Linked DNA regions of Homo sapiens: regions 2 and 3 are each linked to region 1. Evidence: promoter capture Hi-C in 16 types of primary human blood cells and fetal thymus (Javierre and others, 2016). All regions are on one chromosome and are shown on one strand. The core of a region is centred on a gene start or on the middle of the fragment in contact, and the rest is flanking DNA. Distances in the headings are between cores, read along the strand shown.

The links. The method cuts DNA at HindIII sites, captures the fragments that hold promoters and counts their contacts. A CHiCAGO score of 5 or more calls a contact.
Region 2: a fragment that was not itself captured here is called in contact with the fragment with the promoter of PPP2R1B in region 1 in 2 of 17 cell types (fetal thymus and activated CD4 T cells); the score reaches 8.5 in fetal thymus.
Region 3: a fragment that was not itself captured here is called in contact with the fragment with the promoter of PPP2R1B in region 1 in 1 of 17 cell types (naive CD8 T cells); the score reaches 5.4 in naive CD8 T cells.

The regions. Positions count from the first base shown.
Region 1 is chr11:111,764,225-111,768,494 of GRCh38, reverse strand. PPP2R1B (protein phosphatase 2 scaffold subunit Abeta) reads left to right here and starts at 2,106. Exons shown (of 15, transcript NM_002716.5): 1 at 2,106-2,247; 2 at 3,111-3,201; 3 at 3,590-3,690. The coding sequence starts at 2,134. It also overlaps a transcript of ALG9 not described here. RefSeq lists enhancers at 2,041-2,090, 2,111-2,290, 2,177-3,080. The HindIII fragment of the contact is 3,920 bases long and covers 1,400-4,270 here.
Region 2 is chr11:110,421,916-110,426,185 of GRCh38, reverse strand. No RefSeq gene overlaps it. Among named protein-coding and RNA genes, the nearest start is that of FDX1, 5.9 kb to the left of the region's middle. RefSeq lists a silencer at 4,255-4,270. The HindIII fragment of the contact is 184 bases long and covers 1,715-1,898 here.
Region 3 is chr11:110,446,482-110,450,751 of GRCh38, reverse strand. The region is part of intron 2 of FDX1 (ferredoxin 1); the gene reads right to left. Among named protein-coding and RNA genes, the nearest start is that of FDX1, 19 kb to the right of the region's middle. The HindIII fragment of the contact is 4,319 bases long and covers 269-4,270 here.

The DNA.
Region 1 (4,270 bases), core at 857-3,356:
CGTTACCATGTTTAGCTAAATTGTTTTTATTATGCTGTGGTTATTTAAATTTACGAATATAAAGTAGGAAAAATGTGCTTTTATTTCTAGTTCTTACACAGCTAAAAAAAAACCACAACAAATTTACAAATTAAATACAAATGAAACCACAAAATGAATACTATTCAATTAAAAATATTATAGTAATTTAACGTGACAAATGATGTATTTTGCTAAAACTGTCATCCGTCGTATTGTTACTATGGTGTTGCCTGCTATAGCTCAGCTTCTTTTGTGTTCAACATGCCTATGCCACCAAGTGACTCCTGATATCTTAATTTTCTCACCATTTTTCTGTTACAACTACCAAATAGTGCAATCTCATGATGCATTTGGCTTTCATTTTGTGCATGAAAGTATCATTGTCATTTTAAAACCACCTCTGTTCTTTTCTCATTATCCCAGAACAATAAAAGCAGCACTAAAACACACATGTAAATGTGGGTGCTGAAATTGTGTGGCAATACTTGGTTGTAAGGTGGTCACCCAAATAATTCAGAATATGCTTATACAAATCTAAAAAATATGAAAATGAAAATAAAATTAAAACCCTAGAGAATACATTCGCAGACATAATTTGAGAAAAACTGTTCAGGTCTGCTGGTTCCCAAACTTTCATTACTATCAAAGGCTCTAGCTATTGTGCTTACTTCCAAGAACCCCATTTATTTATTTATTTATTTATTTATTTATTTATTTATTTATTCATTATTTCATTCATTCATTCAAAGGCTCTATTGTGCTTACTTCCAAGAACGCTATTTATTTATTTATTTATTTTAGAGACGGGGTCTCACTCTGCCGCCCAGATTGGAGTACAGTGGTGCGATCCTGGCTCACTGCAACCTCTGCCTCCCGGGCTCAAGCGATTCTCATGTCAGCCTCCCGAGTAGCTGGGACTACAGGCTCCCGTCACCAGCCCAGCTAATTTTTGTATTTTTTAGTGGAGACAGGGTTTCACCAAGTTGGCCAGGCTGGTCTCGAACTCCTGGCCTCAAGTGATCCGCCCGCCTCGGCCTCAGAATCCCATGTTTTAAAAAAGTTTGTCTCCTACACTGCATTTATAGTTTTATTAATCAGGCACATAGAATTACCATTTCGGAGCTTGTGATCACCATATGTAGTTATCACTCCAAGCTGCTTAAATTCCAGTCTAAAACAAACAAAACATTCTAATTATTCTGTGCTACCCTGACAGGGGTAAGTGAAAACTTTCCATTCAGGTTTGTAAGAACGAGCTCCCAGACCTCCACCTCTTCCCCTTGCTGCCTCTGAGGACTCTTGGAGGTCTAGGGAGGCCAGTTTGGGTTTTCTTGCTCAAGAAAGTAGCCACCCCACCCAATTTGGAAGGATTAAAGCTTGTCCTAGTTTTGCTTCATTGTTGTACTTCTAGCATGCTAAAGAGCTAAAAAATGGGAGGAAGAAAATACAACAGAAGGCACCATTCCAGTACCAAACTGAAAAGAAACACAAAAACAAGAGAGCAGCATGTTTTTAACAGCTTGCGTGGAAAAAATATTGACTGGGGAGTTTGGACAGCACTGTTCATTTTCTCTCACCGCCCGCGTTATTTGTCTTACGGAGCAGGAGCCAGATACCATTCTGGAGAAAGAGCCGCGGGAAGAGGTGGAGGGGTTCTGTGGAAGTTTGAGTCTGAGCGGAGAAATTAGGGCTGGAGATCCAGTGGCTCAGGGCCAGGAAGAAGTCAGGGGAGGTGCTAAAGCCTTTTTCCTCCTGGCCTCGGGCACTCTCTTTGGTCCGCCTGAGTCTTAAGAGGGCACAGCGCAGATCATTCAGGTAGGTTCCTGGCTCCTTCAGACTACAACGAGCTGGATGAATCCCTGTCCCTGTTTCTTTCGGCTGGGGAAAGGACGCAGGGGTTCCATTCGCTTTCTTAGCCCACCCGTCTTCTTGAGTTCAGACCTACAACTCCTGCAGTGGGGGTCAGAAGGGAGCCTTAATCATCGGGACAGAAACGCGGCTCCCCAACTTCGGCTAAACCAGCGTGGCGGCCTTCGTCCCTACTGCCTGGGCGCGGGGCGGGGCCTGGGCGCGGGGCGGGAGGCGGTGACCAGCAGCAGGAGGAGAAAGAACATGGCGGGCGCATCAGAGCTCGGGACCGGCCCAGGAGCAGCGGGTGGAGATGGAGATGATTCGCTATACCCGATCGCGGTTTTAATCGACGAGCTCCGCAATGAAGACGTGCAGGTACTGGACTGAGGCCGGGGACCCGAGGCGAGACCGGCTGGTCGCGTGGTAGAGAAGGGGGAAGGCCTGCGTCGCGGTGGGGGTGGCCGAGGTACTGAATGAGTCGGACTCGTAGCAGAAACTTGAAGGGGAGGCGGGGAATGCTCCGCGAGGGGCTGTGGTGACACGCCCCGACCCTCCCGGGTACCTCTCTAGTAACCTTGCTTCGGACCCCCTGAGGCGTCCGCCCGGAGCCTTGCCCTTCCCGGGCGGTTGTCGGGGAACCCGCTTCCCGCCTGGGCGCCCCATCCGGGCCGTGAGGTGGCCGCGTCTCTTGGGCGAGGGAGCAGGAGAAGCGCGGTGCCAGGCCGAGACGGGGCTGGAGCGGCTGAGGGGCGCAGGATGCCCAGAAGCCCTTTGAAGTGCCCCTGGATCCCTTCATCTCGGCTTGGAACTGGCTCGGCTTGTTGGGTAGAAAGCGGGGGTGGGATGGCCGATTAATCTGGACGAGTAGTGTATCCGCTCTGTGGGAACTTTTCTTTGAAACCACAGGTGTTGTATTCAACCGTTTCACCTGCTTCACCACTGCCAAAGTGCTCTCTTTTTAAAATTATCTTACTTCCTAGGTGTTGTATTGTCTTTCCTTCATTTCTCTTCCGGTCCCTTCTGAGTGTTTCTCCTGGGAAATCCTCCGCCGGCTAGTGAGGCCGAGTTACACTTCTTTTTGGAAGTCCTTATGAGCTTCCTTAACAGTAAAATCTAAATGAAAGGTTATCTTCATTCTTACCCCTGTGTCATAATTTCACCTGTTAGCACCTTTTGTCTTTTGATCTAAATTCAGCCGTTTCTTTACATTGTTCTTCTTTCTACTTTCTTTTCTGAAGCTCCGACTCAACAGTATTAAGAAGTTATCAACAATTGCCCTAGCACTTGGAGTAGAAAGGACCCGAAGTGAATTGTTGCCATTTCTTACAGGTATGTGAATCTTTGTTTAAAGAAAGGTAGGGACATTCCATTTTCCAGTAGCTTTCAACACTGACTTTTTTAGAGTTTATTACCCACATTAAAATGAGCCAGGTGTTTTTTGTGCAAAAGAAACAGAACAGAGTATATTGTTAGTTGTGGCTAGATATATTCAAACATCAACCATTTAGCTATTGAAAGTAATTGATACGGGAGTATGAATTTCTAATTCGTTGTGCAAAGCAGATACAGGAAGACGGTTGAGAAGAAAGAAAATGCTGTTAGGATTTTGACTGGGTCACCTTCCTGGTCGCATAGTGAATCTGTTCCTAGTTTTGTGTCAGTGTCCAGCTGTGGGAGAGCTATCCATGTTGATGAGTCCTGTTGTTGTCACTTCCAGATACAATTTATGATGAAGATGAGGTACTATTAGCTCTTGCTGAGCAGCTGGGAAATTTCACTGGCCTAGTGGGAGGTCCTGACTTTGCCCACTGTCTGCTGGTGAGTATTTATAAGCTGCCTACCCTCCTTCTACAACTTTTGCAGTATAAATGATACATTGTTTGGTGATAGACACACTGCAGCATTTTTTATGCAGATCTTTTTATGGGCAGATAGTCATAATGTTAGTCATTGAGAGAATAAGTACTGTAGGCACTTTGCACTCAACTCCTTTTTTTTTTTTCTGTAAATAAGAGAACTTCGTCCTCCTTTTCTGCGTCTGTAGACTTATTAGTTTAGATGTAGGGAGAAAAAGGGTTTGATTGTTTTTATGGTTCCCCCGCGCGATGGTGGAAGTTTTAATTCTCACCTAGCAGCATTTTGTCTTTGTCAGTTTAACTTTTGCTTCTGACTTTGTGAGTTTGATGAATTTAGTTCAATTTAATTGACATTTATTGAGAGTCTACTTTATCAGACACATCATAGTTTACAATGTTAATGTTGAAGAAGACCAATGTGAGGGGGCTTGGTGGCACAAGCCTGTAGTACCAGCTACTCAGGAGGCTGAGACTGGAGGATCACTTGAGCCCAGGAGTTTGAATCCAGCCTGGGCAACATAGTGAGACCCCCATCTCTTAAA
Region 2 (4,270 bases), core at 557-3,056, 1.3 Mb after region 1:
CCAGTGAGATCGTAAATGAAAAAGGCTTGCTGGTTTTGGCAGGGTCTGAATTATTCACCCCTGTTCTCAAGCGTAACCTGGGGAACATTTTCCTAATCACCCTGGAGGTGACCACAGCCGTAAGTTAGTACCACACAGCCAATATGTCCCATTTGGAGCTAGCCAATAAATACCTAGTTGCTACAACCAATCGGTGGCATGCCAGTCAATGTCTTGTAATATGATAATGTGGTCACAGCATTCTCCCAGTATCCACCCCATATTTCTCATACTTTCTGGCCATAAATCCTTGGTGTGGTTTCTTTGCTCCCAGCATTTTGGCTGAGTTGGCCAAATGAAGGGGTGAGCCAGAGAAATTCATCCCAAATTTGCATTATTCCATTTTGAAATGGGCTGTTGTTTGGGGCATAATTACCACCTTTTTTTTTTTAGTTGTGGGGGATGCTAAAGTGAGAGCTAATGAGCTGGTCCTTTCCATTGAAAAACTTTTCCCATCTTCCTTGTTCTCTTATGCCAGCACTAAGAATACCAGACCATTTCTGTGATATAATAAATTTTTGGTCCTAACCTTGGAAGGAGGATACCTACCATGGCAGGCCAGAGCCACTGGAAAGAGGCATGAGTCTGTATATCCAGCAGGTGTCCTTTTGTAATCTGTCTGCATACTCCTGAGCCTATTGTAGAAACAGGTTTGTTTCACTGGAGTCAGTGGGTGAAAATGGCAAGAAGGTGTAGGGATATAGGGTCAATAATAGCAAGGTTGTAAAATTCATTTAGCTACTAAAAGGATGTTAAATCAGACAAGGCAAGTGTCCTGTTCTTTGTAAGACAGCAGTTGCCAGTAGCTCTGGGACAATAATTGTCATGGTTATTATACAATAAACATAGGCATTCTTTTGTTTACAGGCCTTGTCCTGTGTCTTGGGGTTAAACAGTCCACACAGCTGTCATCTGCTTCTATGCTGGGTTGAAGGTCAATGTTTAGTGAACTGGAGGTGAAGGTCTTTGATAGGAGTTACAGTCCACTCAGGAGTTTGTGTCTTTTTAAGATGAGAGATGTGAATCCATGAGGCTATACCCTCTAATTTTGTGGCACGTAGATTAGTTAATAGTACCTAGTATGGGCCTTTCCATCGAGGTTGAAGAGAATCCCTTATTAAATGTCTTTTTCAATAGACCAAATCTCCAGGCTGCAGATCTTGACCAGGCACCTTATCTTCAGGGAGCACACTGTGAAAGGAATTCTTTACCAAATCTTGGCTTTTTTAAGATGATAAATGAATCCCTCCCAATATTGTGATATATCTCCCTTGAGAAAAGTTGGATTAGTTATTTTCATTCCCATACATATGGGCCTTCCAGTTATAATTTCATAAGGGGACGGTTGATGTTTTCCAAGAAGGGTGGATTGCAGTATAATCAGCACTAGGGCGAGTGCTTTGGGCCAGGGGAGGTGAAATGCCTCTGTGAACTTAGCCAATTGTGTTTTAATTATTCCATTGGTCCTCTCCACCAGGCCTGAGGACTGGGGATGGTAGGCACCCTGAAAATGTTGAAATATGGCCAAACTGTACAAATATTTTGAAAAATCTGGCCAGTAAAGTGAGTTCCCCTATCACTGCGAAGTTCACAGGGGACTCCCCATAGTGGAGTCATTTTTTTTAGTAGGATTTTTCCAACTGACGTGGCTGTTGCTTGCCTGCAGGGAAAAGCTTCAACCCAATAGGAAAACATGCAGACCATTACTAAAACACTGATAACCTTCAGATGATGGCAGCTGGATAAAATCATGCTGCCACACCTCAAAAGGTCTGGCCGGAAGGGGAAAATGACCCTGGGCCCCATGGAGGGGTTTTCCTGGATTATATTTGGGACAAATAGCACATCAAGAGTAAGCTTTTTGTGCCACTGTGAAGGATGGTTTCCAGTAATATTGTTTATACCAGGATATAATTTTATCAGGATTCCAGTGGGTTAGGTTGTGAACATATTCCATAAGGGACACCTGACATCCTATTGGAATAATGGGTTTATTATTAGGTCCACACCATATTTCAGTTTCGGGAGACAAAAATCCCCCTGCCTGTTTCCAAGTAGATTTCTCTTTTGTAGGAGCTATGTTCTGGGTTTCTTTCAACATGTTTTTAAGTGTTTCAGGTTTTATGGCCATTTCCCAAATTGGGGCTGGTGGATCAAATGCTACCCTTTTAACTGTGATATCAGCCAGTTGGTTACCCCGACTTTCTGTGGTGTCTGACAGTGACCTGGGATTTTTATAGCTGCCAACGTTTTGGTTTTAGAATAGCTTCTAACAGCTCTGATACTTGTTGTCCATTTTTTATGAGTTGCCCTGAGGAAGTTAAAATATCCTCTCTCTTTCCATAGCCTCACAAAGTCATATGCAACCCCAGAAGCCTAGCACTGTCAGTATAAATGTTTGCAGCCTTGTCTTTTGCTAATTGACAAGTTCAGATCAGGACAATCAATTTGGCCACTTGAGCTGATCTGGCTTGGGGAAGAGGACTGGCTTCAATTACCTCTAGTAAGGAAACCACAGCATATCCTGGTCTAAAATTTCCATTCTTTCCTCTTAAATAAGACCCATCTGTATACCATTCTGTCTCAGCATTATCCAGTGGCATCTCTTGTAGGGCTGTCCTGGGTGTGAGAAATAGGTCAGTTACCAGAACACAGTCATGACGGGTTTTGTTGGAAGGGCCCAGCAAGAGTGGCCAGGTTAAGATTATTACAGTGGGAAATGGTAATATTGGGAGATGATAAAAGAATAATTTCATAAGAGGCTAACCAGTTGACAGAGAGATGTTGAGTATGATGAGAGTTTAGAAGGGTTTCAAGAGAATGCAGCACAAAAATGTTAAAGGGGGAACCCATATTTGTTTCTTCAACAGACTTTTACAGAAGGGCCATGGTTGCTATTGCTCTCACACAAGGAGGCAGCCCTTGAGCCACAGGGTCCAGCTGTTGGCTATGATAGCCTCTAGGTCTCTGCTGATCATCAAGTTTCTGGGTCAGTACCCTAGATGCAGTACCTCTGAATTCACGTATGAAAAGGGAGAAAGGCAATTTGTAGTTTGGGTGCCCTAAGACTGGGGCATTAGAATTTCCTTTATCTGTTGTACATCTGATTTTCCCTCTGGAGTCCACATGATGGGATCAGGTTGTTCAATTTTTAGGTACGCATACAGAGGTTGAGGTATAAGGGAGAAATTTGGTATCCAGTTTCTACAATAGCCTGCCAGGCCCAAAAGTCCTCTAAGTTGTTTCCTGGTGGTGGGCATTGGGAAAGCTAAAATTCCTCTCACTCTATCAGGGTTAATATTCAGTCCTTTGACTGAGATAATATGCCCCAAATACTTAAGTTGCAGTAAGCATAGCTGCAGTTTGTCTTTAGACACTTTGTGTCCCTTGGTGGCTGACTAAATATAGACTATCTTCCAGAGAGGAAGAGAGTATGTCTGAGCAAAGGAGAAGGTCATCCACATACTGGATGAGTGTTGAGCCCTGGGGAAAAATTAATCCTCTAAATCAACTTTTAATATTTGGGAACAGTAAACAGGACTTTCTGTATACTCTTGGGGGATTACAGTCCACATATATTGCCATTTTTTCCAAGTAAAGGCAAACAAATACTGGCTGTCCAGATGTACAGGAGTACTAAAGAAAGCACTGCAGAGATCCACAACTGAGAAATACTGACTGGTGGTAGGTAGAGCTGATAGAAGGGTATGTGTCGTGGGAAGTCAGGGACCCCGAATGGAGGGACCAGCTGAAGCCATGGCAGAAGAACATAAATTGTGAAGATTTCATGGACATTTATTAGCTCCCCAAATTAATACTTTTATAATTTCTTATGCCTGTCTTTACTGCAGTCTCTGAACATAAATTGTGAAGATTTCATGGGCATTTATCACTTCCCCAATCAATACTCTTATTATTTCCTATGCCTGTCTTTAATCTCTTAATCCTGTCATCTTTGTAAACTGAGGAGGATGTATGTCGCCTCAGGACCCTGTGATAATTGCCTTAACTGCACAAATTGTTTGTAGAGCATGTGTGTTTGAACAATATCAAATCTGGGCACCTTAAGAACAGGATAACAGCAATGTTCAGGGAACAAGGGAGATAACCTTAAAGTCTGGCTGCCTGTGGGCTGGGCAGAACAGAGCCATATTTCTCTTCTTTCAAAAGCAAATAGGAGAAATATCACTGAATTCTTTTCCTCAGCAAGGAACATCCCTGAGAAAGAGAA
Region 3 (4,270 bases), core at 1,179-3,678, 1.3 Mb after region 1:
TCAAAGATTTTGGAAATTGTACAAGTCTCATATTTCAAGAATTATTTTCTCAAAGAAACAAAATAGAAAAGTGGATTCCTAAAGTTTAAAAATCTAAAATCCTCAAACATTTTTGTTTTAAAATATACTTAAGTAGAACAAATGTTTGATGTAAAATTCTTTTCATTACTATGTCCACCTTTCAAATAACCAAAAATACATCATGTCTTACAGCAGTCCCGAGCCACAGGCCACACAGCAGGTGAGCAGAGGGCAAGTGAGGGAAGCTTCATCTGTATTTACAACTGCTCCCCATTGCTCACATTACCGTCTGAGCTCCACCTCTGTCAGATCAGCAGCTGCATTAGATTCTCATAGGATGAGAACCCTACTGTGAACTGTGCATGTGGGGGATCTAGGGTGCACCCTCCTTATGAGAATCTAATGCCTGATGATCTGTTACTGTCTCCCATCACCTCCAGATGGGACCTAGATCTAGTTGCAGGAAAACAAACTCAGGGCTTCCCACTGATTCTACCTTATGATGAGTTGTATAATTATTTCATTATATGATACAGTGTAATAATAATAGAAATAAAGTGCACAATAAATGTAATGCACTTGAATCATCCCAAATCCATCCCCACCCCAACCTTGCCCATGGAAAATTTGTCTTCCACAAAACCAGTCCCTAGTGCCAAAAAGGTTGGGGGCCACTGCCTTAGAAAATACAACGGTAGTTACCAGCAGATGGGAGTGGGGGTAAGGAAATGAAATGAGCATGTGCTGTTCAAAGGCTACAAAGTTTCAGTTAGGAGGAATTTGTGTTTAAGATCTCTAGCACAGGCCGAGCACAGTGGCTCATGCCTGTAATCCCAGTACTTTGGGAGGCCGAGGCAGGCAAACTGTTTGAGGTCAGGTATTCGAGACCAGCCTGGCCAACATGGTGAAACCCCATCTTTACTAAAAATACAAAAATTAGCTGGGTGTGGTGGTGCTCACCTATAATCCCAGCTATTAGGAAGGCTGAGACACAAGAATCACTTCAACCCAGGAGGTGGAGGCTGCAGTGAGCCAACATCATGCCACTGCACTCCAGCCTGAGTGACAGAGTAAGACTCTGTCTCAAAATATTATAAAAAATTAATTTTAAAAAATCTATAGCAACAGCATGGTGACTGCAGTTAATAATAATGTATTGTGTATTTCAAAAGTTACTAACAGTAAATTTCAGATGTCTCATCACAAAAAATAAGTGAGGTGAAGGATATGTTTATTAGCTTAAGTTAATCATTCCACATTGTATACATGTATCAAAACATCACACTGTACCTACCCCATAAATACAATTATGATCTGTCAATTAAAATTAATAATAATAACATACTTCATGCCTTAGCACAGATAATAACCTGATTTAGGAACACCTTACAGCAACACTGATATTAGCCCCTGGTGCTAGCATTTTAGCCACCATCCTGGCTTGGTTATACAACAATTTTCATGAACTTAAAAGTATATACATTTTAGTACTGCTTTGATTTTGTTTACATACTGGCTAACAATTCAGAGTGCTTTCTCCTAAATTAACAGTAGTATGTATCATGACAGGTTTTTGGCTTTCTTCCTAACATTTTGTTATATCTAACCTCTATTCCAAAATAACTCATTTTCAGATACATTTTTCAGTATTAGCACTTAATGCTTGGCTGAAACTGATACAGGCTTTAAAAATGATTTTAAATTATAACCACAGTTTAAAATATCATCACCATAGTCAAGAAAATCATACAGATATTCAGATGTCTATAAACAGCATGGTTCACATGGTGCTGACAAAGGATGGCAGGGATTTGTTTATTAGCTAAAATGGTCCATCTTTAGCTGCAGTAACAAATGTAAAATTTACAACTCACACAGCCTGCCAGCTTAAAATTACAGGATTCCTGACAACAGTTTTGGTTTCTGCAATGCTTCTGATTTTGCTAGAGTAAGAATCTCAATACTGTTAATCTGCACAATTTCAAATATATGCATATAAAATGACATGAAGAATAGTAAAGCATGCTTACTAATTTCAAGGTTGGTGAACTCATGAACCAAGTTTTGTTTTTTTAAAACAGGAATAATGATAGTAAGTACTTGGGCAAATCCTCAGAAGTTGTAGCTGTGAAATTAATTCCTAGAGAAAGTCAGATCTCTGCAGACTGCTCTGCTCCTTTCCTTTCATGTAACTTGAGTGTTTGCCAACGGGAAAAGACATTTTGTGTGTGTGCATCTCATATTAAGATCATTTTGTATTATCTACTACGATGCTGACAATACAATTGCCTGCCCCGACACCTAACCCCTTTCCCAAACAAAAATCTAGAGGATGGCTGTGTGGGAATATTATATATTAGAAATGGAAATTATGTGTAAATATAAAATCTAATTTTCTAGATTAAAGATTGATCTAGCATAGTCAGAAATACATTATATCAATAGGGACTCAAGCATGAGGGGAATACAAATAAACTTATACAAACACAATCAGGATCTTCCAATTTGTATAATTTCCCTCAAAACAGACACATGAAGAAAACAGGTAATATTGAAGAAAAAAATGTCTTGAGAGTAAACTAGGTAAGTTGAATCTCAGGTGTGTAACTGCCCCCTAGTGACAGAATATTATGATACACTCTGAAAACAGGTACCTGCATCATCCAAAAGATCTATATTAATATAAAAGTTGGCAATGAGAATGTTTATAAGTTTGAACTGTTTCCAAAATTTATGACTGTCCCTTTTTATTCATGTGTTCACTTATTACTTCATTTCGTATACAATGAGGAATTAAACAGGAATGACTTTATCCCTCATCGCAGTCTATTGGGAAAGATACACAAGAAATACATAATTACTAAACTGTGACAAATACTATAAAACAAGTGAACAAGATGCTGAGAAAGAGAATAATGGGTTCAGGGTAACAAGAGAACCACTACTTTGGACTGGGTGGCTGGGCAAAGCCTCGCTAAGGAAGTACATAAATTGAGATTTGATAGATGAAAAGCTAAATTTTGGGGATGGGAGAGAGAGGGATGTGTCTCAGGGAGAGGGTAAAGTATATACAAAGTCTCAAAGGTAGGAATTTTGGGTGAGTTCAAGCTCTTGAGAAAAGGCCAGTATCACCAAAGTGAGACAAAGAACAATGAGAAAAAAACAAAAAAGAGGAAGAGTGGCAGATGGGGCCAGATAATGCAGAGCCTTTTACGGCTGGGAATACAGATTTTATCCTATGTGCAAAGGAAGACACTCATGGTTTTTTGTTTGTTTGTTTGAAGGAGTCTCACTTTGCTGCCAGACTGGAGTACAGTGGTGCAATCTCGGCTCACTGCAACCTCCGACTCCCTGGTTCGAGGAATTCTCCTGCCTCAGCCTCCCAAGTAGCTGGGATTACAGGCATGCACCACCATGCCCAGCTGGGTTTTTTTTTTTTTTTTTTTTTTTTTTTTTTGTATTTTTAGTAGAGACGGGGTTTCATTATGTTGGCCAGGATGGTCTCAATCTCTTGACCTCGTGATCCGCCCATCTCGGTTTTTTTTTTTTTTTTCCAAGATGGAGTCTTAGTCTGTAACCCAGGCTGGAGTGCAATGGTGCAATCTCAGCTCACTGCAACCTCTGACTCCTGGGTTAAAGCAATTCTCCTGCCTTGGCCTCCCCAAGTAGCTGAAATTACAGGTGCACGCCACCACACCTGGCTAATTTTTGTATTTTTAGTAGAGACGGGTTTTCACCATGTTGCCCAGGCTGGTCTCAAACTCGTGACCTTGTGATCTGCCCACCTAGGCCTCCCAAAGTGCAGGGATTACAGGCGTCAGCCACTGTGCCTGGCCCACTCATGGCTTTTAATCAGGGGACTGACATGTCTGATTTCTGTTAGGACAAATTACCTGGCTGTTAAACTCCAGAGCAGAAGCAGGTTAGCACAGCTCCAGGCGCCCAGTGGCTGGCCAGCCCCTCGTGCCGACTGTAGGGATGGAGCCAACAGGACATGCTGGAGGCGAATCTTGGGGGCACAACTGGCAGGAGGTGCCGATGGACTGGATGTCAGGTTGGGAAGAAAGAGGAAGGAATGGTGCTCTACGGTTTCAGGTTCGAGCAGCCGGGTGGTGCTCATTACTGAGGTAGGAAAGACTCGAGGAAGGACAGGTTTCATCAGGAGGAAAAAAGGCAAAAGCTGTTTTAAATATGTTAGATTTCCAAGAAGTGATGTAAAGCAAGAAGTTAGATCTGTAAATCAGGGCTC